Regions from separate parts of the Homo sapiens genome. Here all the other regions are linked to region 1. Evidence: promoter capture Hi-C in human tissues and cell types (Jung and others, 2019). All regions are on one chromosome and are shown on one strand. Each heading gives the region's core, a stretch centred on a gene start or on the middle of the fragment in contact. The rest is flanking DNA. Distances are from core to core; before and after follow the strand shown. Region 1 holds the start of KCNH4 (potassium voltage-gated channel subfamily H member 4). Region 2 overlaps TUBG2 (tubulin gamma 2). Region 3 holds the start of TUBG1 (tubulin gamma 1). Region 4 holds the start of COASY (Coenzyme A synthase). Region 5 holds the start of KLHL11 (kelch like family member 11).

The links. The method cuts DNA at HindIII sites, captures the fragments that hold promoters and counts their contacts. A contact is called where the count stands out against the background at its distance.
Region 2: a contact is called between a fragment that was not itself captured here and the fragment with the promoter of KCNH4 in region 1, in 1 of the 25 tissues and cell types used here (IMR-90 fibroblasts).
Region 3: the fragment with the promoter of TUBG1 here is called in contact with the fragment with the promoter of KCNH4 in region 1 in 4 of the 25 tissues and cell types used here (aorta, dorsolateral prefrontal cortex, mesenchymal stem cells and 1 more).
Region 4: the fragment with the promoter of COASY here is called in contact with the fragment with the promoter of KCNH4 in region 1 in 1 of the 25 tissues and cell types used here (mesenchymal stem cells).
Region 5: a contact is called between the fragment with the promoter of KLHL11 here and the fragment with the promoter of KCNH4 in region 1, in 3 of the 25 tissues and cell types used here (adrenal gland, pancreas and stomach).

Annotation. Positions count from the first base shown.
Region 1 is chr17:42,179,044-42,184,585 of GRCh38, forward strand. KCNH4 (potassium voltage-gated channel subfamily H member 4) reads right to left here and starts at 2,099. Exons shown (of 17, transcript NM_012285.3): 1 at 1,827-2,099. The coding sequence starts at 1,902. It overlaps HCRT (hypocretin neuropeptide precursor), which reads right to left. Exons shown (of 2, transcript NM_001524.1): 2 at 5,017-5,485. The coding sequence ends at 5,111. RefSeq lists enhancers at 492-1,059, 4,623-4,682, 5,184-5,542 and silencers at 2,009-2,248, 2,255-2,530, 5,113-5,332. The HindIII fragment of the contact is 13,187 bases long and covers 1-5,542 here.
Region 2 is chr17:42,664,837-42,670,378 of GRCh38, forward strand. TUBG2 (tubulin gamma 2) reads left to right here. Exons shown (of 11, transcript NM_016437.3): 7 at 640-726; 8 at 842-991; 9 at 1,251-1,403; 10 at 1,487-1,648; 11 at 1,767-2,170. The coding sequence ends at 1,964. PLEKHH3 (pleckstrin homology, MyTH4 and FERM domain containing H3) reads right to left here. Exons shown (of 13, transcript NM_024927.5): 11 at 5,082-5,540; 12 at 4,594-4,785; 13 at 3,078-3,467. The coding sequence ends at 3,291. Among named protein-coding and RNA genes, the nearest start is that of TUBG2, 8.3 kb to the left of the region's middle. RefSeq lists an enhancer at 3,394-3,969. The HindIII fragment of the contact is 5,317 bases long and covers 283-5,542 here.
Region 3 is chr17:42,606,927-42,612,468 of GRCh38, forward strand. It overlaps TUBG1 (tubulin gamma 1), which reads left to right and starts at 2,757. Exons shown (of 11, transcript NM_001070.5): 1 at 2,757-2,860; 2 at 3,182-3,294; 3 at 3,497-3,664; 4 at 5,149-5,217; 5 at 5,501-5,542. The coding sequence starts at 2,812. It overlaps RETREG3 (reticulophagy regulator family member 3), which reads right to left and starts at 2,448. Exons shown (of 9, transcript NM_178126.4): 1 at 2,160-2,448. The coding sequence starts at 2,398. RefSeq lists an enhancer at 2,330-2,439. The HindIII fragment of the contact is 7,237 bases long and covers 443-5,542 here.
Region 4 is chr17:42,558,621-42,564,162 of GRCh38, forward strand. COASY (Coenzyme A synthase) reads left to right here and starts at 3,528. Exons shown (of 9, transcript NM_025233.7): 1 at 3,528-4,702; 2 at 5,341-5,542. The coding sequence starts at 4,003. RefSeq lists enhancers at 3,604-3,853, 3,864-4,053. The HindIII fragment of the contact is 9,955 bases long and covers 1-5,542 here.
Region 5 is chr17:41,862,010-41,867,551 of GRCh38, forward strand. KLHL11 (kelch like family member 11) reads right to left here and starts at 3,414. Exons shown (of 2, transcript NM_018143.3): 1 at 2,817-3,414. The coding sequence starts at 3,361. ACLY (ATP citrate lyase) reads right to left here. Exons shown (of 29, transcript NM_001096.3): 29 at 4,909-5,542. RefSeq lists enhancers at 1,345-1,854, 3,598-4,098, 4,099-4,599 and a silencer at 3,375-3,564. The HindIII fragment of the contact is 18,491 bases long and covers 1-5,542 here.

The DNA of each region.
Region 1 (5,542 bases), core at 849-3,348:
CAAGGTCAGGTCAAGGCTGGGAGGCGAGCTAGCTTCCAGGTGGGCAGCACTTCCTCTAAGTTGGGGTTAGAAGTCACAGAGCCAGAAGCTTCCCAGGTTTCCATGTTGCTCCTGACCCCACTTTGGGATATTCTGAATTGAGAATTGGAGAAGTTGGAGCAAAGAGACAAGGACTTGAGACAGGACTTAAGCAGGGTCTAACGGGGAGTTGGAGAAGGACCCCAGGAGGTCATGCCATCCATCCCCCTGCCTTCCAACTGGTGAGCTGTCACTGTAGAAGGCAGTATAGCATGGTGAGTAAGAGCCTGGGCTCCTGCAACCCTCCACTGCCACTTACTAACTGTGTGACCTTGGGCAAGTTGATGACCTCTTCTGTGCCTAAGCTTTCCTTATTTGCAAAGTAGGGCATAATAGGCCTTCCTCACATGGTCGTTGTGAGAGTTACATGAGTTAACTTGGGGAGAACAAGTCCTAGCACATGGTAAGTGCTACTCTGAGAAGGTGAAATTTTTTCCCCACATTCACTTGGCTTTCTTCCTATTACAGAGTAAGCAGGGCAGAGATTCTGATGACACCACACCCATTTATTGATAGGAAACCAAAAGGCAGAGATTATCCAAACTCACAGATCTCCTTAGTGTGGGGGCAGACAGTGATGAGTGCTGTCTTCCTTCCCTGCCTTCCAGAGAAGGTCCACTTTTTAGCATTCTTGTAGCTGCTTTCAGGGGATCTGCCCCACTGCTCAAAGTCTAATGGGAGAGGGCATTGAGCGTATAGCTCCAGCAACCCCCAGCAGCAGAACCCGAGCTGTCTCCCTCCAGCTCCAATGGGTGGGAGGCCAGGGGGACTCCTGTGGGCCATCCAGGGACAGAGACTCAGCTAAGAGATGGGGCCTGTGACACAACCAGTCCTGGTGCTCTAGGAGGGATGACTGTCTGGGGGCAGGGAGGCTGATGGGGACACTGAAGGTGCCTGGGAGGCACTGGGCTCTGGGCACAGCCTCCTTCTTCCATCCCAGGGCCTGTTGCCCCGGTGATGGGCGCTATGGAAACAAGGTGGTGGGGAAGAGGGTAGGGCCCGGCGGCTCAGTTTCCGCCCTCGGGTACCGCTCCCCCACCATCCAGATCCCGGCCAGGGTTCCCGAGGGAATGGCGGGGTTGGGGGAGGTGAGGGCGGGGAATCTCTGGGTTCCAGAGTGGGAAGAGGGAATGGCGGGAGAAGAGGCGGGGGAGGAGTGATGTGGCTGTCCAAGGTGCTGAACCTGAAACCCAAGCTACGTTGGGCGAGCTGGGAGTTCCCACCGTCGCACAGACCGCTCCCCTCCTCCTGCCTCACCCACCTTAGACACTGACGCCCCACGATTTGGGGGCGCGCGACCTCAATCCAAACTAGGTCCTGCTGAAGTCTGATCTTTTCTCCTTTTTTTCTGGAGGTAGTGGGAGCTGGAGTCTGTGAGTAGACCCCAGAATGCCCGGCCACTTTGCCCCACTTCTGTGTCTCGGATACCCCCATACACGCCCCCAGCACAGCTCTGCCCGAGAGTGGGCGGCTCCGAAGGACCCTCCTCCGCTCTGCCGCACAAAGAGCCTCTTCTGCCTCGAGTCACACCCCCTAACCTTGGCCCCCGTGCTCTCGGCCCTTTCCCCTCCTCCCCTCGCAGGGCACTCCCCGCCCTGTTCCTGCACCGCGGCTTTGGGAGTTCCTAGACCCGCACCTCCATTCTCTCCCCTCGCCTCGGGTCTCACCATGTCCAGGAGATCCGAGACGGCCCCGAGGATACTTGCCCCCCAGCTCGAACCTCAAGCCCCGACCTCCGTCCCACTCACGCGTTCCGTCAAAACGGGTGGCGATGGTGTCCAGGAAGGTGTTTTGCGGGGCCAGCAACCCCTTCATGACCGGCATGGCCCCGGGGCGTGGGTTCAAGGCGCGGCGCTGGGGAGCTTTCAGCGCGGCCGGGCCGGAGGGGGCGCGCTGTCGGAGGGGCCGGGGCGCCCCATGCGCCCTCCTGCCTCCTCCCCTCCCTCTTACTGCCGCTGCCGCTGCCGCTGCCTCTGCTCCGAACCCCGTAGCTCTCGGCTCGGCTCAGCGCCGTTTCGGTCCCCCCCACCTCCCCACGGGCCAGGTTCTTCCCCTCGGGCTCGGCCCGCACCCGCCACGTGGCCCCACACGGGGAGGGGCCGCTAGCGACACCCGCACCCCTCTGGGCAGCCCTCCTCCCAGAGGGGAGCGGCCCACGCGTGTCTCTCGGGGAGAGAATTCGGGGCACGCCCACCGGGAGGGGAGGCCTGAAATGATGGGCGGGGCTTGAATAACAGACCCGCCCTCTTCCAGGCTGGCCACGCCTCCACACGTGGTTCCCTGGCTGCTCCTTGTGGCTCCACCTCGCGGGTTTTCCCGCGCGGCGTCCACGCTGGGCTGGTGTCTGGTTCACAGTGCCGCCTACTGGAGTTGACATATTTCGCAGCACCCACAGGCCAGTAGCTCCAGCGTGAGACAGCAAGGGTTAAGAGGCTAGTTTGCTGGTAGAGAATGGACAATGGGAAGGCTTGAAACCCCAACTCTAGAAAGCACCATTCTTACCTCCTGCCTCAGTTTTCCCAAGACACCCTGGCGAACTCTGCCTACTGAGACACAGCATGGTGGAATGAAAAGAGCTTTGGAGTCCACCAGGTAGAGTCCCAGCTCTAGACACCAATCGTGTGATATCCTCTCCAAGCCCACTTTCCTCATCTGTAAAATGGAGCTGATAATTCTTACCTGATGCAGTTACCGTGAGAATGTAATACCATAATGCATGTCTTTGGTACAAAATAAGTGTCTTGAAGGGCAGTTGCCTGCCTGTTTTCCCTCTTCCTACTGTCTTAATCCTCCTCTCTGCTGCCCTTCAAGTGGAAGAGAGGCTGGAGGCAAGTTTGGGAGAAACTACCTCTGAAAAAGATAGTTTCGAGGTGGGCAGAGTCATGGCTTGCAAATCTCCAAGGATGCACATGTGAACTTTGACCTCTAACTTCTCCAAGATGGAACCAGTACAGCAGCAAGAGGGACCAAAGTGAGACTAGACACAGGACTTTCTCACTACCTATGCAGAAAATTGAGGCAGCTGAGTTCTGTGGCTGAGGGTGGCTGCTTCCCACGACAAAACAGCTGAAGCAGTGAAAGTGGGAACCCTATGGGCAAGGAGGGCAGGCTAAATTCTCCCCACCCTCTGAGCTAGGTATTATCTGGGATGTTAGATTGCTAAGAAGTGCCACATTTTTCTGTGTCTCTACTTTTGTTGTTGTTGTTGTTCTTGTTGTTCTTGTTCTTGTTGTTTTTGAGACGGAGTCTTGCTCTGTTGCCCAGGCTGGAGTGCAGTGGCATGACCTCAGCTCACTGCAACCTCTGCCTCCTGGGTTCAAGCAATTCTCCCGCCTCAGCCTCCTTAGTAGCTGGGATCACAGGCGTGCATTACAATGCCCGGCTAATTTTTGTATTTTTAGTAGAGATGGGGTTTCGCCATGTTTGCCAGGCTGGTCTTGAACTCCTGACCTCAAGTGATCCGCCCGCCTCAGCCTCCCAAAGTGCTGGGATTACAGGCATGAGCCACGGAGCCTAGCCTGTGTCTCTACTTTTGGATGTTATATTAGTTTCCTAGGACTGCCATAACAAAGTACCACAAAGTGAGTGGCTCAAACAACAGAAACCTATTGTCTCACAGTTCTGGATGCTAGAAGTCCAAGCAAGGTCAGGTGAAGAGCGTTGGTTCCTTCTGAAGGCTATGAGGGAGAATCTGTTGCATGCCTCTCCCCTATCTTCTGGGGGTGGGGGTGCTGGCAATTTTTGGTGTTCCTTGGCTTGTAGGAGCCAATCTCTACCTTCATGTTCACATGGGTTCTCCCTGTGTGTGTTTCTGTGTTCCAATTCCCTTTTTTATAAGGACGCCAGTCACAGTGGATTAGAGGCCCACCCTACTCTAGTATGACCTCATCTTAACTAATTGCATCTGGAAGGACCTTATTTCCAAATACAGCCACATTCTGAAGTGCCACGGGTACGGACTTCAACATATGGATTTTGGGAACACCAGTAACAGGTGTCTTTGGCTGGAGTTGCAGTAAAATCTTGTACTGCCCCTGCTTAAGAATGTCCCATGACTCTGTTACCTACAAGATAAAGTGCAAAGCCCGATGATTTGTGAGAGCCTTTGCGAGCTGTGCTGCACTGACTGTAACTGTGTCCCTTCCTGAGCCTCTCCACTCCCCACACCCTATACCCCATGATGCAGCCATTCTGGATGACTCATTGTTGAAGTTCAAATTCCCTGCCTTTTCAGCAGGATTGACTCCCACCCCTTCCTAGCTGGATTCTGCTGCTCTATGCAGCTTGCCTGCCTTCCTTCCTTCCTTCCTTCCTTCCTTCCTTCCTTCCTTCCTTCCTTTCTTTCCTTTCTTTCTTTTCTTTTTTCTTTTTCTTTCTTTTTTTTTTTTTTTTGACAGTGCCTCCTTCTGTTGCCCAGGCTGGAGTGCAGTGGCCCAATTATGGCTCAAACTCAAACTCCTGGGCTCAAGCAATCCTCTCGCCCACCATACCCCGCTAATTAAAAAAACTTTTTGGAGAGATGTCTCACTCACTATGTTGCCTAGGCTCGTCTCGAACTCCTTGCTTCAAGGGATCCTCCTGCTTTGGCCTCCCAAAGTGCTGGGATTACAGGCGTGAGCACCGCGCCCGACCGCTGCAACCTTTCTTGCTTTCCTTCCCCTTCCGCGTCTCTGGGTAAAGTCCCCGCTACAGAATGCCTAGCAGAGCATCGTAGGAGTCCCGCATGGCCCGATCCAAGCATGCACCTGTGCAGTTCTCTCTGTGCCCCAGGGCCTTGCACTGGGAACTCCCCAACCAAGAGTGTTTCCGATTCAACCACGCAAAAGCTAAGGCTGGTGCCCGACAGCCGGGCTTCCAGGCCCAGCTGTCCTCCGCAAGACGCTTTGCCACCCCGGATGGGCAGGACGCGACCGCACAGGAACAGAGACCAGTCACACGAATGGAGACTCGTCTTTATTGCCTTTTTTCTGGGGGCTGACGCTGGGTGGGCAGAGGGCAGAGGCCTGGGCCAGGACAGGGCCCGAAGAACGACTCAGATCCCGGACTGTCCTCCGGGCGCGACGGAGGCGGCGGCCGGGGCGGAACAGCGGCGCCCGAGGCAGGGGCGCGGCGCTGGCTCTGCGCCTGCGCGGCGGCCCATGGTCAGGATGCCCGCGGCGTGGTTGCCGCTGGCCTGCAGGAGGCGCTGCAGCCGACCCTGGAGGCCCGGGGGCCCGGACCTCCGCTTGCCCAGCGTGAGGATGCCGGCCGCGTGATTGCCCGCGCCGTGCAGCAGCTCGTAGAGGCGGCAAGAGCAAGTCTTTTGACGACAGCAGTCGGGCAGGGGCTGTGCAGCCGCCCCGGACGACAACAGCGCGGGCGGCAGCAGCAGCAGCAGCAGCAGTAGCGTCACGGCGGCCCAGGAGACCTAGGGAGACGGAGACAGGGCGCTGGGGGGGTCTTCCCACGGCGCCCGCCACCAGCT
Region 2 (5,542 bases), core at 1,691-4,190, 490 kb after region 1:
ATTTTTTATTTATATTTATATATATATATATATATTATATATATTTATACTTTTTTATTTATATTTTTTACAGAGATGGCATCTTGCTGTGTTGCTCAGGCTGGTGTCCAACTCCTGGCCTCGAGTGGTCCTCCCACCTTGGCCTTGGGATTACAGGCCTGAGCCACCATGCCCAGCAGTACTTTTATTTTATTTTATTTATTTTATTTTATTATTTTATTTTATTTTTGAGACGGAGTCTTGCTCTGTCCCCCAGGCTGGAGTGCAGTGGCATGATCTTGGCTAACTGCAAACTCCGCCTCCCGGGTTCATGCCATTCTCCTGCCTCAGCCTCCGAATTAGCTGGGACTACAGGCGCCCGCCAACATGCCTGGCTAATTTTTTGTATTTTTAGTAGAGACGGGGTTTCACCGTGTTAGCCAAGATGGTCTCGATCTCCTGACCTTGTGATCCGCCCGTCTCGGCCTCCCAAAGTGCTGGGATTACAGACATGAGCCACCGCGCCCGGCCTCAGTACTTTTTTTTTTTAAACTAACAAACCTACTTCCTGGCTTTGGAGTTCAGCAGGGGCTAAGCCAATATCTTATTTCTATGCCCATTTTATCCTCAAGATGCTGTGATGCTCTTCTGTCCCCCCAGGTGGTGCTGGACAACACAGCCCTGAACCGGATTGCCACAGACCGCCTGCACATCCAGAACCCGTCCTTCTCCCAGATCAACCAGCTGGTGGGCCCCCACTCCCGGACTCCTTTGGACTGGAAGCCCTCCTTGCTGGAGGGTCATCTGGGGAAGGAAGGTCCCACCCAGGCCGAGCCCCATGACATGGCACGCCTGTCCCCAGGTGTCCACCATCATGTCGGCCAGCACCACCACCCTGCGCTACCCCGGCTACATGAACAATGACCTCATCGGCCTCATCGCCTCGCTCATTCCCACCCCACGGCTCCACTTCCTCATGACCGGCTACACCCCGCTCACTACAGACCAGTCAGTAAGAGCAGCCTTCAGTGTCCCAGGCCAGGCTGGCCCTGGGCCCAGCAGGCCCTGCCCCAGCCTTTCTCTCTTCCCCACTGCCCCAGGAGCTGCCCTTTGCAGGCCCCAAGGCACTGCGCTCAGGGACTGGCACAGAGCGGGCGACTTTCTTGCTGACTTTCTCTCCACCCTCCCTCTGCCTTTGGCTTCTGCCAAAGAGAAGCCAAAGGGACTGTGCCCTGAGCGCTGGCCGGGTCCCTGTCTCACTGTCCCATCAGGTGGCCAGCGTGAGGAAGACCACGGTCCTGGATGTCATGAGGCGGCTGCTGCAGCCCAAGAACGTGATGGTGTCCACAGGCCGAGACCGCCAGACCAACCACTGCTACATCGCCATCCTCAACATCATCCAGGGAGAGGTGGACCCCACCCAGGTAGGGGAGGCCCCTTCATCCCGCGCCCTGGACCTGCAGGGGTAGAGGAGAGGCCACCTCCACTGCTCCTATGCCCACCCCAGGTCCACAAGAGCCTGCAGAGGATCCGGGAACGGAAGTTGGCCAACTTCATCCCGTGGGGCCCCGCCAGCATCCAGGTGGCCCTGTCGAGGAAGTCTCCCTACCTGCCCTCGGCCCACCGGGTCAGCGGGCTCATGATGGCCAACCACACCAGCATCTCCTCGGTGAGTCTAGGTTTCTATTCTTCTTAGAAGAGTCTGTTCCACTGGCCACCTTCATCATCTTCCCCAAGTTCACTCCTAACCCCCTGGCTCGCATTTTGGAGATTTTCATCTCTTTCAGCTCTTTGAAAGTTCCTGCCAGCAGTTTGACAAGCTGCGGAAGCGGGATGCCTTCCTCGAGCAGTTCCGTAAGGAGGACATGTTCAAGGACAACTTTGATGAGATGGACAGGTCTAGGGAGGTTGTTCAGGAGCTCATTGATGAGTACCATGCGGCCACCCAGCCAGACTACATTTCCTGGGGCACCCAGGAGCAGTGATTTCCCTCCCCACTACTCCTTCTCCTTCTAGATGGTAACCACAGCCTCGACCATGCCTGCTCCCTCTGACCCAGCTTCACCTCATGGACAACCCTTCTTGGTTCATCTCCAGCCCGTGAGCTGGTCCTGCTTCCTCCCTTCCATGCCCTAACTTTTAATATGCTTGTTCAGCTCTAATAAAGTAATAAAGCTTGGTTGTCAGTATAGCCAGGGCTTGATCTGTGAATACGGGGGGGTGGTGAAGGGGTCCAGTTTCTAGGCATCTGACAGTAGGGTGGCCTTCACCTCCTCCAACGTCTTATCACTTAGTCCAAATCTTAGTGTGTTCACTGTTTCCATTGGCATCCCTCACCTTGAACTAGGCTGTTTAGTATTACTAGAGTCAGCCCTTGTCTCAAGATTACAGAGCTTTACTGAGGTTTGCTGTCTCCTCAGCGCCTAAGCTTTGCCCCAGTGAGGGTCAATGTTGCCCCAACCTCTTCCACTCAGGGCAGAGGAGGTGGGGTCTACTGAAGGAGGGCACACTACATTCTGAGCAGGCCAGGAGAGCCAAGGTTCCAGATTCCCAGTGCCCAGGGCCATGAGAGTTCCAGGAACTCAATCCAGTTCAACCCAACCTGATAAGTAGAAACAGAATTCAAGAGTAGGGCTGAGCACATCCTGAGTTACTTTTCTGTGCCAGAGAAATTCGTGGGTTTGTTATCTGCCCCAAGCTTCTCTCCATTCTAGGCCCAAAGCATTAGGCACACCAATGATGGGCCCAGAGGTGGACAACGAGTAAGAAATGGGCAGTGCCAGATCTGATGACTCACTGCCCTCCAGCCTCAGGGATTCCAGGAGGCCATCTGTATGCCACTCAGTGGAGAAGGGAGGGTGAGTAACTGCCAGCTTCCAATGAGGCCTGTTTGCCTGCTCCACCCACAAACCTGTGGCAGCACACTGGCCAGGAGGAGGTTAAGTCTGGAAGGTCAAGGAGGGGGAGGGTGAAGCGCTGTGGTGTCCAGACTTCCCCCAGAGCCTGGTAAAAGCCCAGGGTGTGGGCATCCCCAGAGGCGGGGCTCTGCGTTATGGGGTTCCAACTTGTCCCACTGAATAACACTCCCACAGGAAGGGTTTGTGTAAATAAGAAACTTTTTTTTTTTTTTTGCTTCTCTTCTACAAATAAATTAAGAAACAAACTAGAAAATTACCCACACCCATTGTAGCCCTTGGGTGTGGGATGTGCCCTGTCCCTGCAGGGCCAAAAGGGTCCATGTTTCCCTCAAATCTCAGAGCAGTCCTGGCCCAGGCTGCAGGCAGGAGGGAAGTCGTGACCTCTTGGCAGGCTCAGTCCTGCAGCTGCCCCAAGCAGCCAGACTGTCCCTGGGGCTCGTCCAGGCCCGGGCGCTGGCTGGGAGGGGAGGTGTCTGGCAGGTCTTGGCATGGAGGAGAAGAGCTGCTGCAGGGCCTCTCGGGGGAGGGGTTGGCCAAGTAGGCATTCACCAGCTGCATGATCTCTTCCACCTAAGAGAGGGCAGAGGTCAGTGTGCAACAGGGGCTGCCAGGTTCTCTTCTTTTTCTCATCCTTTCTCCAGGCTCTAGGGCTCCAGCTTCCCCACCAGGGTCCTACGTGCTCTGGCCCTGCAACCTTTCCTTCCTTATCACCACTCTCTCCTTCATTTCTTTTTTGTTTTTTGAGACGGAGTCTCGCTGTGTCCCCCAGGTTGGAGTGCAGTGGCGCGATCTCAGCTCACTGCAAGCTCCGCCTCCTGGGTTCACACCATTCTCCTGCCTCAGCCTCCTGAGTAGCTGGGACTACAGGCGCCCGCCAACACGCCCGGCTAATTTTTTGTATTTTTAGTAGAAACAGGGTTTCACCGTGTTAGCCAAGATGGTCTCGATCTCCTGACCTCATGATCCGCCCATCTCGGCCTCCCAAAGTGCTGGGATTACAGGCGTGAGCCACCGCGGCCGGCTTCTCTCCTTCATTTCTATGTGCCAGTTATACTTGGTTCTTTCTGCTCTTCTAACATTTTTTTTTGTTGTTGTTGTTGTTGTTGTTGTTGAGACGGAGTCTTGCTCTGTTGCCAGGCTGAAGTGCCTCGGCTCACTGCAACCTCCGCCTGCCGGGTTCAAGCAATTCTCCTACCTCAGCTTCCCGAGTAGCTGGGACTATAGGTGTGCGCCACCAGCCCCAGCTAATTTGTATTTTTAGTAGAGATGGGGTTTCGCCATGTTGGTCAGGATGGTCTCGATCTCCTGACCTCGTGATCTGCCCGCCTCGGCCTCCCAAAGTGCTGGGATTACAGGCATGAGCCACTGCACCCGGCCACCTTGCAATTCTTTCTACCTGGAATGCTGTTCTCCCAGGTCTTCCCTGGCTAGCTTAAATGGCACCCTTTTTGAGAACCCTTCCCTGGCTTCCTGTCACATCACTCTTTCCTTTGTAGCATTTCTCACTGTCTTCATAGCCTGGGATTCCTTGTTTATTGTCTGACTCCACTCTAGTGTAAGCTCCTTCAGCTTGTCTGTGATCACTGCTGGATCCCCAGTGCTTAGAGCTCTACCTGGCCCAGGTTTGGTGTTCTGTAAATGCTTCCTGACATCGCTTCCCTTCTCTCCTCCTCCCACAACTCCTCTTCTCACTCACCTGGGGGCTCTGCAGGAGGAGCTGGCTCTCTCCCACCCTCAAGGCCAGGGTGTGGGGGCCCATTAGCTGGCAGGCGGCCACATGGCCATAGCTGACACTGTGGATGGGCTCCGTCTCCCCTGGCCGGGAGAGGGACATGGCCTTGGCTCCCAAGCCCAGGCACAGCTTCTGTGGAGCACCCCGACCAGGCTCCTGCAGACAGAGAGGCAGAGTCAGGGTGGAAGGAGGAGCCCAGCGTTATTTTTGGTAGGGGGAGATGGGTGTCTGTGAGCAGGAGTATCCTGATCCCCCTATGATTCACAGCACGTGTGTGGAGGGGGCTGAGGCTCCAGGGATGTGAGGGCCCAAGGGCTGGTGACTCCTGGGGTTTGAGATGGGTAGCTGTTCTGGATGTGGGGAATTACGTGACACTCCGTGGGACCTGTGGCTCTGGGGCAAAGGTGTGGGGCTTGGGCCGCCAGAGTCCCCTTCTCCCTTCTCCCCCTCACCGTGCTCAGCTCCAGAACGTCATACCGAGCAGCGCCGAACCCCGGACACTGCGCCGCCAGGGCCAGGTAGGCGGCCATGGCCTCAGCTCGGCCCATGCCCCGTAGCCGCTTCCAGCCGCCCAGCACGGCAGCTGCCGTGCCGGCGCCGCCTCCTCCCTCGCGGGCAATGCTTCCCGCAGTGCGGCCGGCCCCGCCGCGCCGGGCCCGCTCCGCCCGCCTCTTGGCCAGGCCCGGGCTCCAGAGCGCCCCGGCCAGCAGGGCAGCGGAAGGGGGCGGCCTGGGGGTCGGGCGGGGCGGGTCTTCGCGCGGCGGGGCCGGGGGCGGGAGCAGGCGGTCCAGGCGGGGCAGGGGCACCCGCGGAGAGAAGTCCCGCTGCAGGCTCTGCAGGCGCAGCGCCGCCAGGGCGCGCAGCGTGTCGTCGGGTGGGGGCGGCCGGCCCCGCAGCAGCAGAGCGTGAGCCT
Region 3 (5,542 bases), core at 1,507-4,006, 430 kb after region 1:
GAGGAGGTTGTAGTGAGCTGAGATCGTGCCATTGCACTCCAGCCTGGGCAACAAGAGCCAAACTGTCTCAAAACAAAAATAAGTAAACCCTGATAAAGTGTTTTTTTCCATCAGGCAGTCATACTTTGATACAAATTGGTTTAATGAGGCCCAGCCTTCTTGCTAGAGATACCAAAACCACTGTGGGAAATGTTTTGACTGGATAAAACACTCTTCAGTGAGGTGCTATAGTGAAGATTTCTACAGAGAGCAATGGGAATCAGTACCTAGGGGTCAAGGAAGAAGCACTTGGCTGGGCACGGTGGCTCATGCCTATAATCCCAGCACTCTGGGAGCCCAAGGCAGGAGGATCACCAGAGCCTAGGAGTTCGAGACCAGCCTGGGCAATATAGTGAGACCCTGTCTCCACAAAAAATTTAAAAAATTAGCCAAGCATGATGATGTGCACCTCTGGTCCCAGCTATTGTGGAGGCTGAGGTGGGAAGATTGCTTGAGCCCAGGAAGTGGAAGTTGCAATGAGCCGAGATCATACCACTGCACTCCAGCCTGGGTGATAGAGCAAGACCTTGTCTCAAAAAAAAAAAAAAAAAAAAAAAGGCCAGGCGCAGTGGCTCACGCCTGTAATCCCAGCACTTTGGGAGGCCGAGGCAGGCAGATCACCTGACCTCGGGAGTTCGAGACCAGCCTGACCAACATGGAGAAACCCCATCTCTACTAAAAAAATACAAAATTAGCCGGTTGTGGTGGTTCATGCCTGTAATCCCAGCTACTTGGGGGGCTGAGGCAGGAGAAATGCTTGAATCTGGGAGGCGGAGGTTGCAGTGAGCCGAGATCACGCCATTGCACTCCAGCCTGGGCAATAAGAGTGAAACTCTGTCTTAAAAAAAAAAAAAAGGGAAAAAGCACTACCAAAAATAAATGAAGAACGTGGTAGGAAAAGTTTACCATCGAGTTTGCTAAAGGCTCTGGAAGCCACAAATGCCAGAGACTACTGTGACACCTTTAACTGGGTCTCTTTCAAACTGGGAGAGGATTAGCTTAATAGCTGAACACTGTTTTCGGGTCAATGAACTTGGAATTATTTGTTCTGCTTCAGCTCACTGAAAATCTTTCAGATAAAGGATAATAAATGTTTTGATTTTAAAACAAATTTTAAGGGGAAAGCTATTTTTAGCAAAAACACAATTAAAAAACACACATATTTTGTTGTTTCAGGCTTATCCAGAATAGTCTTAATCCATTCAGCAGCAGAAAGCCCCCTATAAGTCAGTTCCCTTGGAACCTCCTCCATTACAAATAAATCCAAAATTATGGTTGGTAGATCCTATGAAGTCCTAGGTCCACTTCAGGTGATGACAACTGAGAGAAGCAGCAGTTCCATTTTCACAGAGCATGACACACACAAATAAAGCATATTTACAGTGCTACTTTTCCAGCTCAGGAAAACTCACACACAGTATTAGACATCAATTTCCTTGCCTATAAACCATGGCTAAGGATGCCTCTCTAATTCCTTGGAACAGGGAGGAGTTACAATCACAGGTGGCTTTGACACGCGTGTAATCTCCGTCATCATTTCCTAACTGTTCTTTAAAAGCTTGTAATTTTCTTTCAATTTTCAGCTTTGGGGGCTCACACTGACGCTTAGACTTCATAAACTTCCTTCCTAGATATATAACATGCTAATTCATGCGAATCGCTCAAGCTTGTTTTATAATCACACCTATGGATACCTTTGCAAGACTTCACGCCTCTACTCCAACAATAAACTACTAAAACCTCTGGAAACAATCTAGAACTTGCACTTGAGCAGACAAGAGAAAGGAAGTGATGGCTTTAAAGGGACGCAGCTTTGTCGGGCTCAAAAGAGGAGCCCTCGCTCACTCTTGAGCGGCTCAAGATGTTACCAGAAGCTCCCGCCAGATGTGCGGGGCGGGGGTGCGGGCACAGGTAAGGCAGAGAAGATGGGTGGACGGCCCTGGGAAGAACTAGGGTGCCGAAGCCTGCAGGCGGGATGGAGTGGAAGGAGGTGAGGCAAAATTAGGCAAGTACAGGAAGGAGCCAGTGCAGCGAAGAAAACAGGGCAGGCGAGAAGTAGAGCCCTAGAGGAACCAACGAATTCGGGACTCGGAGGGTTTCCGAGGGTCCAGTTCTCTCACCAGAAAGCCGCGTTCAGCCCCAGGCACCACAGAGCGCTCCTAGCTGGCCGCTCCCACACCAGGGCTGCCTGCACCCGACTCAGCAGAGGCTCGTAAGGCCCCAGCACCTCCACCAGGGCCCGCTGCGCCGCCTCAACCTGCTGGTCCCGCTCCCAGGAGCCTGACACATCTCGGCGGCCCCTGAAAGTCGACCCCGAAGCCGGGCCTGGGGTCGTGGGAACCCCTTCGGCCTCAGCCATCTCCCCGCGGCAGCCACAACATCCGGGGCCGTGGCCCGACAAGTCACAATAACAGCAACTGCGCAGATGCGCGATTCGGCGGGGGAGGTGGCTTCGCACCACAGCGCGCTTGCGCGCAGGCCCAAGCAGGCGCCCACCCAGAGGGGAGGGAGGACGCCGTACCCCGCCCTCACTGAGGCGCGGAGCCGGATCCGGAGGCGCCGAGCCGCATCCGGAGCCGCGCACGCGCAATCTGCATGAACGAAGGCCAGTGCTTAAAGACGTGCCATTCATTGCCAGAACTCGATTCTCATTGGAGCGGAGGAAGTTCGTGGGTGGAGCTGGTTGTTTGGCGCCTGCGTCTTGCGGCGAGCGGGCTGGCGTGCGGCGCCGTTGCGGGCGGGAGCGGCTGCAACGCCGGTGCCTGAGGAGCGATGCCGAGGGAAATCATCACCCTACAGTTGGGCCAGTGCGGCAATCAGAGTGAGCGAAACTCCGGCCCCTCAGCTAGCCAGGTTCCTTAGGGTCAATGGGATCTCGCTGTGGGATCCTGGACTCCATCTGTCCTTGCCAGAATCGTAGTTCTCTGAAAGGCGAGACATCCCTGACCCAGTGTCCACTTGCCCAACCCCGAGGGGCCCTCCCCTGCCCAGTCCCTGGCGTACAGTCCTTTCCTCAGACACGGGAGAGTCCTGCGGCTTGACTTCTTATCCCTGGACGCAGGCGCCCAGTCCCCCGGCTCCTGATTGGAACCTGCCCGGACCTAGATATCTTCTTTCTCCCCTGCCCGCCCCTTCCCCCCAGTTGGGTTCGAGTTCTGGAAACAGCTGTGCGCCGAGCATGGTATCAGCCCCGAGGGCATCGTGGAGGAGTTCGCCACCGAGGGCACTGACCGCAAGGACGTCTTTTTCTACCAGGTGCCCCCAGCGACTTGGCCGGGGGCGGCAGTTGCCCAAGGGGGCGGAAGGGAAGGGAGTGGCCTGGTACTGGGAACCCCGCTGGGCAGTAGGGCCAGGCGGCTGGCTTGAGGAGGGAGGGCCGGAGGGAGCCAGAGTTGGGAGGACTTCGGACTTGGGCCGCCCTAGCTGATTGGGCCCCCTCCTGGACTCCCCTTGACAGGCAGACGATGAGCACTACATCCCCCGGGCCGTGCTGCTGGACTTGGAACCCCGGGTGATCCACTCCATCCTCAACTCCCCCTATGCCAAGCTCTACAACCCAGAGAACATCTACCTGTCGGAACATGGAGGAGGAGCTGGCAACAACTGGGCCAGCGGATTCTCCCAGGTCGTTTCCTATTCCCTGGCAGGGCCCACAACTCGCTGGGTAGGGACAGGCTCTATGACGTCCCGAAGAGAGGGAAAACCGGATCAGGGATGTATGAATGCTGGAGGGAGAGACCTGGCTGCAGGGAGTGGACTATGTAATATTGTCAAGCGCCTACACTAGCTAATGCAGTGTGCCAGGTCATTCTAAGTGCTTTACATATATTAATTTTTCTAAATCTCCCAACAACCCTAGAAGTAAGTACTACAGGTCCACAGTCCCTTATCTGCCTTTCCAGGATCCAGAAAGCCATGAAACCAAAGGACATTTCATAACTAGTTTATCAGCAAAAACAAATTTCAATGAAGACAGGCTGTTTTATAGTTTCTTTTTTTTAATTTTTATTTATTTATTTTTTTTGAGACGGAGTCTCACTCTGTCGCCCAGGCTGGAGTGCAGTGGCACGCTCTCAGCTCACTGCAACCTCTGCTGCCCGGGTTCAAGCGATTCTCCTGCCTCAGCCTCCCGAGTAGCTGGGATTACAGGTGCTTGCCATCACGCCTGGCTAATTTTTGTATTTTTAGTAGAGACGGGGTTTTACTGTGTTAGCCAGGGTGGTCTTGATCTCCTGACCTCGTGATCCACCTGCCTCGGCCTCCCAAAGTGCTGGGATTGCAGGCGTGAACCGCCATGCCCGGCCCTATAGTTTCTATCCAACTTACTGTCATTAGTGATGCCTTTTATTACAGAAATACTAATATATTTGATTAACGTGCTTCTGATTAAATAAAAATTCCCACTGGAATTTTATTTAATATATAGTATATATACCATAATACCTTTCTAAAATCTGAAATATTTTGAATTCCAAAACATAACTGGCCCCAACACTGTTAGATAAGGGTATATGGACCTGTATTATTACCTTCATTGTACAGATGAGGAAACTGAGGCATAGAGCAATTAAATAAGCTGCCCAGAGCTACATAGAAGTAGAGTTAATGGGCCAGGCGTGGTGGCTCACGCCTGTAATCCTAGCACTTTGGGAGGCCAAGGCAGGCAGATCACCTGAGGTCAGGAGTTCAAGACCAGCCTAGCCAACATGGTGAAACTCTGATTCTACTAAAAATACAAAAAATAGCTGGGCATGGTGGCATGCGCCTATAATCCCAGCTACTGGGGAGGCTGAGGCAGGAGAATCGCTTGAACCCAGGAGACGGAGGTTGCCATGAGCCAAGATCGCGCCACTGCACTCCAGCCTGGGAGAAAGAGAGAGACTCCATCGCAAAAAAAAATAGAGCTAATGTATGAACCCAGGTAGTCTGGGTGTAGAGTGCTTTCTTGTAACCACTGCACCGTACTGCCTCTCAATGTAGATAAAAGCAGGTAGCTATGCTCCATAAAAGGACTTCTGGGTGTTATAAGGAGAATTGAGGGTGGCTTTTCTGAGGTCAGAGACCTCCCATGGTTCTGTCCCACTCTGACCCTCCCCTATGTCTGTACAGGGAGAAAAGATCCATGAGGACATTTTTGACATCATAGACCGGGAGGCAGATGGTAGTGACAGTCTAGAGGTAAGTGTCCCAGGAATGCTGGTAGGAGCCGACATGGGCAAGGCTTGGCAGCACCCTCTAGAAGCGACCTGTTAGGAACAAGACCCACTCATGTACCCTTTGCACTGGACAGAAGCTATCAGGCCTTGCCAGAAACAAGGCAGTTGCCTAAGCTGTATAAGTGAGGGGACTGGATGGGAAGCAAGGGCTCGGGAAAATGGGAGTCCTAAAAAACTATGAGATGGGTCTAGTTTGACATCCTGCCACTAGATACCTGTACACTGACTGCCCCTTCCCCATGCAGGGCTTTGTGCTGTGTCACTCCATTGCTGGGGGGACAGGCTCT
Region 4 (5,542 bases), core at 2,278-4,777, 380 kb after region 1:
GGTGAAAGCCTGTCTCTACTAAAAATAGAAAAATTAGCTGGGCGTGGTGGTGGGTGCCTGTAATCCCAGCTACTCAGGAGGCTGAAGCAGGAGAATCACTTGAACCTGGGAGGCAGAGGTTGCAGTGAGCCGAGATCATGCCGTTGCACTCCAACCTGGGTGACAGTGAGACTCTGTCTTAAAACAAAACAAAAGAAGCAAAGTTTATTTTGCTCAGAGCTTCACAGTTTTAGGGGCTGGAAAGTGCAAGAACTTCATGCAGTATCTGGCAAAGGGCTGTCCCAGGATGGAAGGGCAGAAGGTGGAAGCAAATGAGAGACACGAAATTGGGCCAAATGTCGTCCATCCATCAGGAGCCACTCCCATGATAACAGTATTTATCTATTCAAGAGGGCAGAGCCCTCATGATCTAATTATCTTTTTTTTTTTTCTCCTGCCTCGGCCTCTTGAGAAGCTGGGATTTTAGGCGCATGCCACCACACCCCGCTAATTTTTGTACTTTTAGTAGAGACGGGGTTTCACCACGTTGGTTGGGCTGGTCGCAAACTCCTGATCTCAGGTGATCCACCTGAGATCCACCACTTTGGCTTCCCAAAGTGCTGAGATTACAGGAGTGAGCCACCTCGCCCAGCTGACCTAATTACCTCTTAAAGGCCCCACCCTGCCCAGTGCAGTGGCTCAGGCCTGTAATCCCAACACTTTGGGAGGCTGAAGTGGGAGGACTGCTTGAGTTCAGGAGTTGGAAACCAGCCCAGGCAACACAGCAAGATCCTGTCTGTATGAAAAAAAAAATTTTTTTTTTAATTAGCCAGGTGTGGTGGCACACATCTGTAGTTCCAGCTGCTCAGGAGGCCAAGGCAGAGGACTGCTTGAGCCCAGGCAGTTGAGGCTGCTGTGAGCCATGATCAACCCACTGCACTCCAGCCTGGGGGACAAGAGTGAGACCCTGTCTCAAAGAGAAAAAAAGTCCCATCTCTTAAGACAGTAGCAATTGAATTTTTTATTTCAACATGAGTTGTGGCAGGGACATTCGAACCATAGCACCAAGGTTCTCCCCAAAGCTCTCCAAGACCTTCTTTGATCTGGTTCCTGCCCCCTTTCTGATCTCATCTCCCACCAATCTCCATCTACATCACCCAGTTCAGCCCTCCTGCCTCAGGGCCTTTGTACTTGGCCCCCTCTGGGTCACATTCCCTGATCTCTGATTCTATGTCTTCCTTCAGATTTTTGCTGTTTTCCTGAACCACCTTATCTAAAATAGCCTCTCAGCTTCTCCACTATAGCTCCCTTACTCTGCTTTACTTTTGTTCTTATCCTTTATCACCAGTAGATATATTATGGATTTGGGTTTTTTAATTTAATTTTTATTTTTTTTGGAGACGGAGTCTCTCTGTCACCCAGGCTGGAGTGCAGTGGCGTGATCTCGGCTCATTGCAATCTCTGCCTCCCAGGTTCAAGCGATTCTCCTGCCTCAGCCTCCTGAGTAGCTGGAATCACAAGTACCGCCACCACACCCAGCTAATTTTTTGTATTTTTAGTAGAGACGGGGTTTCACTATGTTGGCCAGGCTAGTCTTGAACTCCTGACCTCAGGTGATCTGCCTGCCTCAGCTTCCCAAAGTGCTGGGATTACAGGCGTGAGCCACCGCGCCTGGCCATGTATTATAGATTTATTTATGGTGGCATGATTCCTGTCTGCAACCCCAAGACACACAGTACTCTATACCCCAGGATGGCAGGGACATTGTTTTGTTCACTGGTCCATCCCTGTGGGAGGCAGTAAAATACACATTTACTCAATAAAAATGACTCTGTATGTGGTGTGTCAGACTGTGTGTCCAGATGTCTTGGGACATTCTCTGGCAGCCTTTGCTGTTTGTGTCTTCAAATCAGACCCTATCTTTAAATCTAACATGTCTCCTGTGAGAAGCCTGGTCCCTTAATACCTTTGTGGCTCTACAACTCTTCCCTCCTTGACTGTATCTCTTCCTCCAGGTCTTTGCTGTTTTCCTGAATCACCTTATCTAAAATAGCATCTCCTTTTCTCCATCATAAGCCCAGGTTTTGTGGGGCTGGGGGCTTATTTGCTTTTGGAGACCGTCTTCAAGAATACAAAAGATAAACACAAAATTACATATAAAAGTGAGTTTTGTTTTTTTTTTTAAGTTTCGGATACCACGGCACATTACTGGAATCTTGGAGACTGGCTTCTCTCCCTTTTGATCTCCATGCACAACTTACCTGAGATGTATTCTAATAGCAACCTGGCTTCCCCTCCACACTCAGCCTTTCAAGCGCCCATTAGCTTCGCAGTAAATCTCCCACACTAGGTATCCAGCCTTTGCCTTTTTCTTTTTTCTTTTTTTTTTTCCAGAGGGAGTTTCGCTTTTTTTTTTTTTTTTTTTTTTTTGAGACGGAGTCTCACTCTGTCACCCAGGCTGGAGTGTAGTGGTGCGATCTCGGCTCACTGCAAGCTCTTCCTCCCGGGTTCACGCCATTCTCCTGCCTCAGCCTCCCGAGTAGCTGGGACTACAGGCGTCTGCCACCATGCCCGGCTAATTTTTTTTTGTATTTTTAGTAGAGACGGGGTTTCACCGTGTTAGCCAGGATGGTCTCGATCTCCTGACCTCGTGATCCGCCCGCCTCGGCCTCCCAAAGTGCTGGGATTACAGGCGTCAGCCACCGCGCCCGGCCGGGAGTTTCGCTCTTGTTGCCCAGGTTGGAGTGCAATGGCACAATCTTGGCTCACCGCGACCTCCGCCCACGGGTTCAGGCGATTCTCCTGCCTCAGCCTCCTGAGTAGCTGGGATTACAGCCATGCGCCACCACGCTCGTCTAATTTTGTATTTTTAGTAGAGACAAGGTTTCTCCATATTGGTCAGGTTGGTCTCGAACTCCCGACCTCAGATGCTCTGCCCACCTCGGCATCCCAAAGTGCTGGGATTACAGGCGTGAGCCACCGCGCCCAATCAGCCTTTGCCTTTTTCTCCTGTCCACAGAGACCCCGCAAACAAGCGCATCAGAGGATCTGGGTGGTGCGAGAGCCTCCTACAGCAGCCAGGTACACACAAGGCCTCAGTTTTTCCATCTGTGAAATGGGTACGTGGACAGACCTGTCCAGTAGCCTCCCATGTGAGAATCCTCGGACTGAGAGGGTACTAGGAGGGCTAATACAGCGCAGCCCTGTGATTCCCCACCTCTGTCCCTGGAATGAAGGAAATCTGGGTGTTAGTTCTGGCTTTGCCGATGCCTCTTGGGTGGCCTGGCTGAAACTAATCTCTCCTCATCAGGCCAGAAGGGAATCTGTGAAATGGGCTTTGAAACCTGCCTTGCCTTTCTCCGCCCGGTCCCAGCGGGGGTCCGATCGGCATCAAGGCTTCACCCACTCCCAGAGCCTTCGGGATCAGCCCCACCCCATCAGCAGGACACAGCCCATGCCACTGGAAATCTCGCGAGAATCCCGCGCTGAAGCGAAGTCGAGACGTTTGACCTTCCTCCGTTTCCGTAGTTCCGAGTTGCGGTTTCTCCGTTAGTGCTTCCGGGTTGCAGCCAGGGAAGCCTCCGCGGTGGTGCAAGTGGAACCCAAGCCTTGAGGTTTCAGTGAGTAGGGGGCCGACGTGAGCTTTAGCGTCCCCCTTTAGCCTCCCTCTTCGATTCCTTGAAGACCCTGGTGCAGCTTAGCAAGAGGGCCCAGGATTTTTGGATCCCCAGCCCTGTGACAAGGGTTCCTGTCCAGTTTCCCCCTCCCAGGATTTCGACTCAGTTCAGCGAAGTCACCGCCCCGTCTGAGAAATGAGGACACCAAGGCTTAGAGCACAGCCCCGAGGCGCCGTCTACCAGGCCCCGTCCCCTCCCCCGGCTCCTGTCGGTCAGCACTGAAACCCCGTCCCTGCTCCAGGCCTCCTTCTCTGGGGTCCAAGGTCCCATACAGGCCTCTGCCTCGGCCGCAGGCCCTTCAGTCACCGTCGCCTCGTCTCCCTGACTGTCCGCAGGCCTGGGCAGCATGGCCGTATTCCGGTCGGGTCTCCTGGTGCTGACGACGCCGCTGGCCTCCCTAGCCCCTCGCCTGGCCTCCATCCTGACCTCGGCGGCCCGGCTGGTGAATCACACACTCTATGTTCACCTGCAGCCGGGCATGAGCCTGGAGGGCCCGGCTCAGCCCCAGTCCAGCCCCGTGCAGGCCACGTTTGAGGTTCTTGATTTCATCACGCACCTCTATGCTGGCGCCGACGTCCACAGGCACTTGGACGTCAGAATCCTACTGACCAATATCCGAACCAAGAGCACCTTTCTCCCTCCCCTGCCCACCTCAGTCCAGAATCTCGCCCACCCGCCAGAAGTCGTGTTGACAGATTTCCAGACCCTGGATGGAAGCCAGTACAACCCGGTCAAACAGCAGCTAGTGCGTTACGCCACCAGCTGTTACAGCTGTTGTCCGCGACTGGCCTCGGTGCTGCTATACTCCGATTATGGGATAGGAGAAGTGCCCGTGGAGCCCCTGGATGTCCCCTTACCCTCCACGATCAGGCCAGCTTCCCCCGTGGCCGGGTCTCCAAAGCAGCCGGTGCGTGGCTACTACCGTGGCGCTGTCGGTGGCACGTTTGACCGCCTGCACAACGCCCACAAGGTGTTGCTCAGTGTCGCGTGCATCCTGGCCCAGGAGCAGCTTGTGGTGGGAGTAGCAGACAAAGATCTGTTGAAGAGTGAGTAAGAGGGACCCTGGACTAGGGTGGAGGATCCCCAAATCTCCCCACCCCCGACCCTTATGCCGAGATCAAGGAAGGGTAGGGCCATTCATTACTTCCCACCCTTCCCAAATGTCACAGTGGTTGACACTCAATTGGTGCTAAGGCCATTTTGTCAAATGAACAGCTTTCTCAGCATGTGGTCCAGTCACCACTCAATCAGAATACCCCAAATGTGAAGCAAAGGGATCTGCATTTTAGCAAGTTTTCCAGGTGATACACCCTAATGAGACACTGGGAATGAATGGGTGAGTGAGCTGCAGGTAGCAGTGCCACAGACAGGAGGAGGAAACTCAAGCATGGCATGGGTCTTGGAATTTTCCATCTGCCTCTGATGCCCTCTGGCACTGCTCGTTCTCTGGAGTGGTTTCCTGGTGGCTTATTCTCTGGACACATGCCAGCCCTTGGAGTGACTATTGTGCTTGCCTGTTTCTTCACCTTCATGCTCCCCTCACCATCACCATAGGCCTTACCAGTTGAACCCTTTCTGCCACCCCCTCTGGGGATACTGTACTTAGGGACACTTTTTCCCAAACTGGCCCATACTCTCCTCCCCAATAAAAAGATCTCACTGTTCTTCTGGGCTCCTTCCCCAGGCAAGTTGCTCCCTGAGCTGCTCCAACCTTATACAGAACGTGTGGAACATCTGAGTGAATTCCTGGTGGACATCAAGCCCTCCTTGACTTTTGATGTCATCCCCCTGCTGGACCCCTATGGGCCCGCTGGCTCTGACCCCTCCCTGGAGTTCCTGGTGGTCAGCGAGGAGACCTATCGTGGGGGGATGGCCATCAACCGCTT
Region 5 (5,542 bases), core at 2,164-4,663, 320 kb before region 1:
ACAGAGTTGACACGACTGGCTACTCCCTCCTTGATATCCTTCTTTTCTACGTTTCCATGAGATCAGTCTCCTCTTTAAGATTCTTTTTTTTTTTTGAGATCCAGTCTCTCACTCTGTTGCCCAGGCTGGGGTGCAGTGGCGTAATCTCAGCTCACTGCAATCTCCACCTCCCGGGTTCAAGCAATTCTCCTGCCTCAGCCTCCTGAGTAGTTGGGATTACAGGCACCTGCCACCACGCCCTGCTAATTTTTGTATTTTTGTATTTATTTATTTTTTTTTTTGAGATGGAGTCTCACTCTGTTGCCTAGGCTGGAGTGCAGTGGCACGACCTCAGCTCACTGCAACCTCTGCCTCCTGGGTTCACGCCATTCTCCTGCCTCAGCCTCCTGAGTACCTGGGACTACAGGCACCCGCCACCATGCCTGGCTAATTTTTTTTTTTTTTGTATTTTTAGTAGAGACGGGGTTTCATCATGTTAGCTAGGATAGTCTCGATCTCCTGACCTCGTGATCTGCCCACCTCGGCCTCCCAAAGTGCTAGGATTACTGGCGTGAGCCACCGCGCCCGGCCTAATTTTTGTATTTTTAGTGGAGATGGGGTTTCATCATGTTGGCCAGGCTGGTCAAGTGATCCATCTGCCTCGGCCTCTCAAAGTGCTGAGATTACAGGCGTGAGCCACTTCGCCCAGCCGGCTATTTTACATTCTAGAGAACCCCAGGGCTCAGTCTTGCCTACTCTCTCCCCGCTGCCCCTTTTCTATGTATACTCCTTAAGTAATACCATCCAGCCCCAAGGCTTTAGTTACCATTTATACGGTAATTTTCCCCAATCTGTATCTCTAGCTCCCATGCACTTCCCAGGGATCTCCTTAACCAAATCCAAAAACTCCTGATCTTACTCCCAAACAGGCTCTTCTGCAATCTTCCACATCTTAATAATTCCATCCTTCCCATTGCTTGGGTCAAAAAGGTAGCAGTCTTTTCCCTTATACCCCACGTCAAATCCATCAGCAAATTCATCTCATCCACTTTCAAAATATATCTGGAACCAGAGCAGTTCTCATCACCTTTACTTCTCCCTCCTCAATCGAAGCCTCCACCACCACTGCCACAACCTCCTACACTAGTCTCTCTGCGTCTGCCCTTGGTGCCCCCTCCTCCCCAATGCCACATCCTTTGTTCTTTTTTTTTTTTTTTTTTGAGACAGAGTCTTGTTCTGTCCGCCAGGCTGGAGTAGAGCGGCGCAATCTCAGCTTACTGCAACCTCAGCCTCCCACCTCCCAGGCTCAAGCGATTCTTGTGTCTCAGCCTCCCCAACAGCTGGGATTACAGGCACACCACCACGCCCGGCTAATTTTTGTACGTTTAGTAGAGACAGGGGTTTCACAATGTTGGCCAGGCTGGTCTCGAACTCCTGACCTCAAGCATCCACCCACCTCGGCCTCTCAAAGTGCTGAGATTACAGGCGTGGGCCACCGCGCCTGGCCGCCACATCCTTTTTTCAGCACAGCACTATTCATCAAATCAGACTGCATCATTCCTCTGCCCCAAACCTTCCCATTTCAATCAGAGTAAAAGCTCATGTCCTTCCACAGGCCATCAAGGCCCTACGGGATCTGGATCCCTGCCCATTACCATCCTGGGGCTTCTCCTGTTCCTCTCATCCTGCATCCCTTTGATACAGCCACACTGGCTCCCCACTGTTCTCTAACATACAAGCTCCACCTCAGAGCCTCTGTACCTGTGTCCCCTACCTGACACAGTCTACCTTACCTCCTTCGGTTCTTAGCAAAACGTCTTCTTCATAGGGCATTCTCTATCCACCCAATTTGGAAAACACTTCCTCTCCCCCAGCAGTTTCTATGTACTCCCCCCATGCTTTATTTTTCATCAGTGATGACAATCATCCAACAGGCTATACATTTAACAATCATCCAACAGGCTATACATTTTACTTATTTACCGTCCATCTACCAACCTAAGTGCGATAAGGAAAAGGACTTTTGTCTGTTTTGATCACTGCTGAAACCCTAGCACCTTAGAATCCCGCATCTGAGCTGATGCGTAATAGGCGCTCAATAGGCATTTTTGTTAATGTATCTGTAAGATGATAATTGCCAAAACAAACGCCTCTCCATCTCTATAAACGGTATTACCTGCCTTCTAACCAGTCTCTGGAGCATTCCTGCTCCCTACAATCCGTTTAACACAGTGGCAGAATAATATTAAAATATTTAAATGAGCTATTTCTTTACCCAGCTTCCTATCACACTTAGTGAAATCCAAACTCCTTATTCCAACGCATCTCACGCATCCTTCTCCCCTTCATCCACTAGATCCAGCCTCACTGGACTATATTTTAATTCTCTTCTCTAAGCCAAACTGGATCCTGCCTGAGGGCGTTTGCGCTGTCTGGAATATTCATTCCCCATCTTTGCACGGTCAGTTATTTTTTGACATTCAGAGGTCGATCTAAACTTCACCTCTTCAGAAAGATCTTTATTCAATCCCTAGCCTTTCATTCCTTTTGAACGTCAGCACAACAGTTACCACATACTGACTTTCCTTTTCATCACTTTTGTCCCATCACCTAGTATCTGAGCTCCTTGGGCGCGGGGCGCCCTCGCCGGACCTGATGGTGCATCCTCCTCGCCCACCGCGGTGGCTGCCCCCAAGCAGGCGCTCAGCGAGTGTGAAACCAATGCATTCACTCAGGACTCGCGAGCTGCCGTGGCAGGCACTGCCCTCCCCTCCGCCAGCGAGCATCTCCCCCTCTCCGCGCCCGCCGCCCTCCGCGCTCCCGCCTCCCTCGCCTACCTGTCGGCCAACTCCAGCACCTCGTGCACGCTGCCCGTGCTGACGCGGATGCGCCCGGTGTACATGTACTCGATTACGGCTTCCACTGTGTCGGGTTCGGGCCCCGGCTCGGAGCTCCACTTGCGCATCTCCACCCGTCCCGAGCGGGACTCGGAAAACTGGCCCGAGAGCAGGGGCGTGAAGTACTCGGTGGCGGCAGCCAGTACCGAGCGGTGGGCCCGGAACTCGCGGCCTCCAGCCCCGCCGAAGCACAGGGTAATGTCGCAGAAGAGGCCCTGGCGCCGCTGCTCGTTCTGCCGCCAGGACAGCTCTGAGCAGTGAGAGCTGCACTCGAAATCCTCGGCTTCTGGGCCCGGATCGCCCCCGCTCGCCTCCATTGCAGAGATCCCCGGCCCAGGCCCGAAGTCCACCGTGCCGCTGCCTCGGACCTCGGCGGCCAGTCCTGCCGAGCCGGCGGCGGCCGTCTCCATGCTCTCCATCTCCAGTACCTGAAGAGATGCAGCCGCGGCCGCCGCCGCCGCCGCCGCCACTGCCGCAGCCGCCATCTTGACGCCGCTGCGCCCGGCCTCCACAGCCTCGGAACGATGCGGCTGTTGGTACGACACAGAGGGATTCTGGGATTAAATAGTGCGCGCGGGGCGGGGCCAGGTCGCCCGCCGGCCGCACATGCGCCGCCTCGCCTCCAGCAGCGCCGCCTCGCCTCCAGCAGCGCCGCCTCGCCTCCAGCAGCGCCGCCTCGCCTCCAGCAGCTCTGCCTGCCTTGGTGAGGTCCGTCAGTAACAGTCGCCCAGTCCAGAAGACTTCGCCCCAGGCCTACCCCCAGGGCGTCGGTGCGAGTATGGCTCGCTTCCTTTCCTTAGTGGGTAGCATGCTCTCTGCAGTCATTTTGTCGAGTAAAGCCACCTTAGACCATCACCTGTTGTTAAAGCCTTGAGTGGCAATACAGGATTTTTATAAGATCTAGCCCCAGCTAAGTGGATGAGGGATGAATGAGTTACTCGTTATCCGTTTTTTTTTTTGTTTCTTTTTGTTTTTGTTTTGTTTTGGGTTTTTTGTTTTTTTTTTTTTTGAGACGGAGTCTCGCTCTGTCGCCCAGGCTGGAGTGCAGTGGCGCGCTCTTCGCTTATTGCAACCTCCGCTGCCCGGGTTCAAGCGATTCTTGTGCCTCAGCCTCCCGAGTAGCTGGGACTACAGGCGCCCGCCACCACTCCAGGCTAATTTTTTTTTTTTTTTTTTTTTTGAGACGGAGTCTCGCTCTGTCGCCCAGGCTGGAGTGCAGTGGCGCGCTCTTCGCTTATTGCAACCTCCGCCGCCCGGGTTCAAGCGATTCTTGTGCCTCAGCCTCCCGAGTAGCTGGGACTACAGGCGCCCGCCACCACTCCAGGCTAATTTTTTTTTTTTTTTTTTTTTTGAGACGGAGTCTCGCTCTGTCGCCCAGGCTGGAGTGCAGTGGCGCGGGTCTCGGCTCACTGCAACCTCCGCCTCCCGGGTTCACGCCATTCTCCTGCCTCAGCCTCCGGAGTAGCTGGGACTACAGGCGCCCGCCACCATGCCTGGCTAAGTTTTTGTATTTTTAATAGAGACGGGGTTTCACCGTGTTAGCCAGGATGGTCTCGATCTGCTGACCTCGTGATCCACCCGCCTCAGCCTCCCAAAGTGCTGGGATTACAGGCATGAGCCACCACGCCTGACCGTAGATGAGCATTTTTAAAACCATATATACTGAAACTATTAGTACAGTTCAGGCCAGGCCAGGCACAGTGGCTCACGCCTGTAACAGCACTTTGGGAGGCCAAGGAGGATGGATTGCTTGAGTCCATGAGTTCCAGAAGAGCCTGGGAAATACAGCAGAACCTTATCTCCACAAAAAATACAAAAGTTAGCCTGGAGTGGTGGCATGCTCCTGTAGTCCCAGCTACTTGGGAGGCTGGAGTGGGAGGACTGCTTGAGCCCAGGAGATGGAGGCTGCAGTGAGCTGTGATGGTGCCACTGTACTCCAGCCCTGGGGCGACAGAGTGATACCCTGTCTGGAAAAAAGTACAGTTACAAAGGAATACAGATCAAAGGATATGGATGCCAGGAGCCAGCAGTATGCCTTCATTGTTACTATATAGTTTATTTAAACCAGACTATGATAATACAGAGAAGAGACTGAGGTGGCAGCTGCCCAGAATCTTTGTGGATTACAGATGCAAAGTAGTTAGGAGTCCTTGGACCCACACTTCAGTTACAGACAGACAAATCAGCTGCATAAATACAGAGAACATAAGACACAAGACATTTCACAGCTTTCTGCATTTCCATTTTAAATGTATGTATGTTACAACTTTACATATTAAGTTACTACTCCACATATTTTGTGACAATGGCTAAGGATGCAATGGCCCCATCCCCCTGACATAAACAGACTCTGGTCTGCAACACAGAACATTTCAGTGGGATACCAAACAAGCCCTTAACACGTAACATACAAAAAGATCTTTAAAAATCAGATTAATACAATGTTCTTCATGTTATATAAGGAAGAAGAAAGGGAAGTAAAAAAAAAAAAAGAGAGACATTGGGGTGCTTTAAATGTATAGTATCTTGAGGCCATAAATGTTTCATTCCCTTCCTCCAAAGGAGAAAAAAATGTTTAACTAATGGAAAAAGAAAGCAACATCCTAACGCCCTACAATGAGGAAGACCCCATCCTGACAGTACTTAGATGCTTCCATATAATAAAT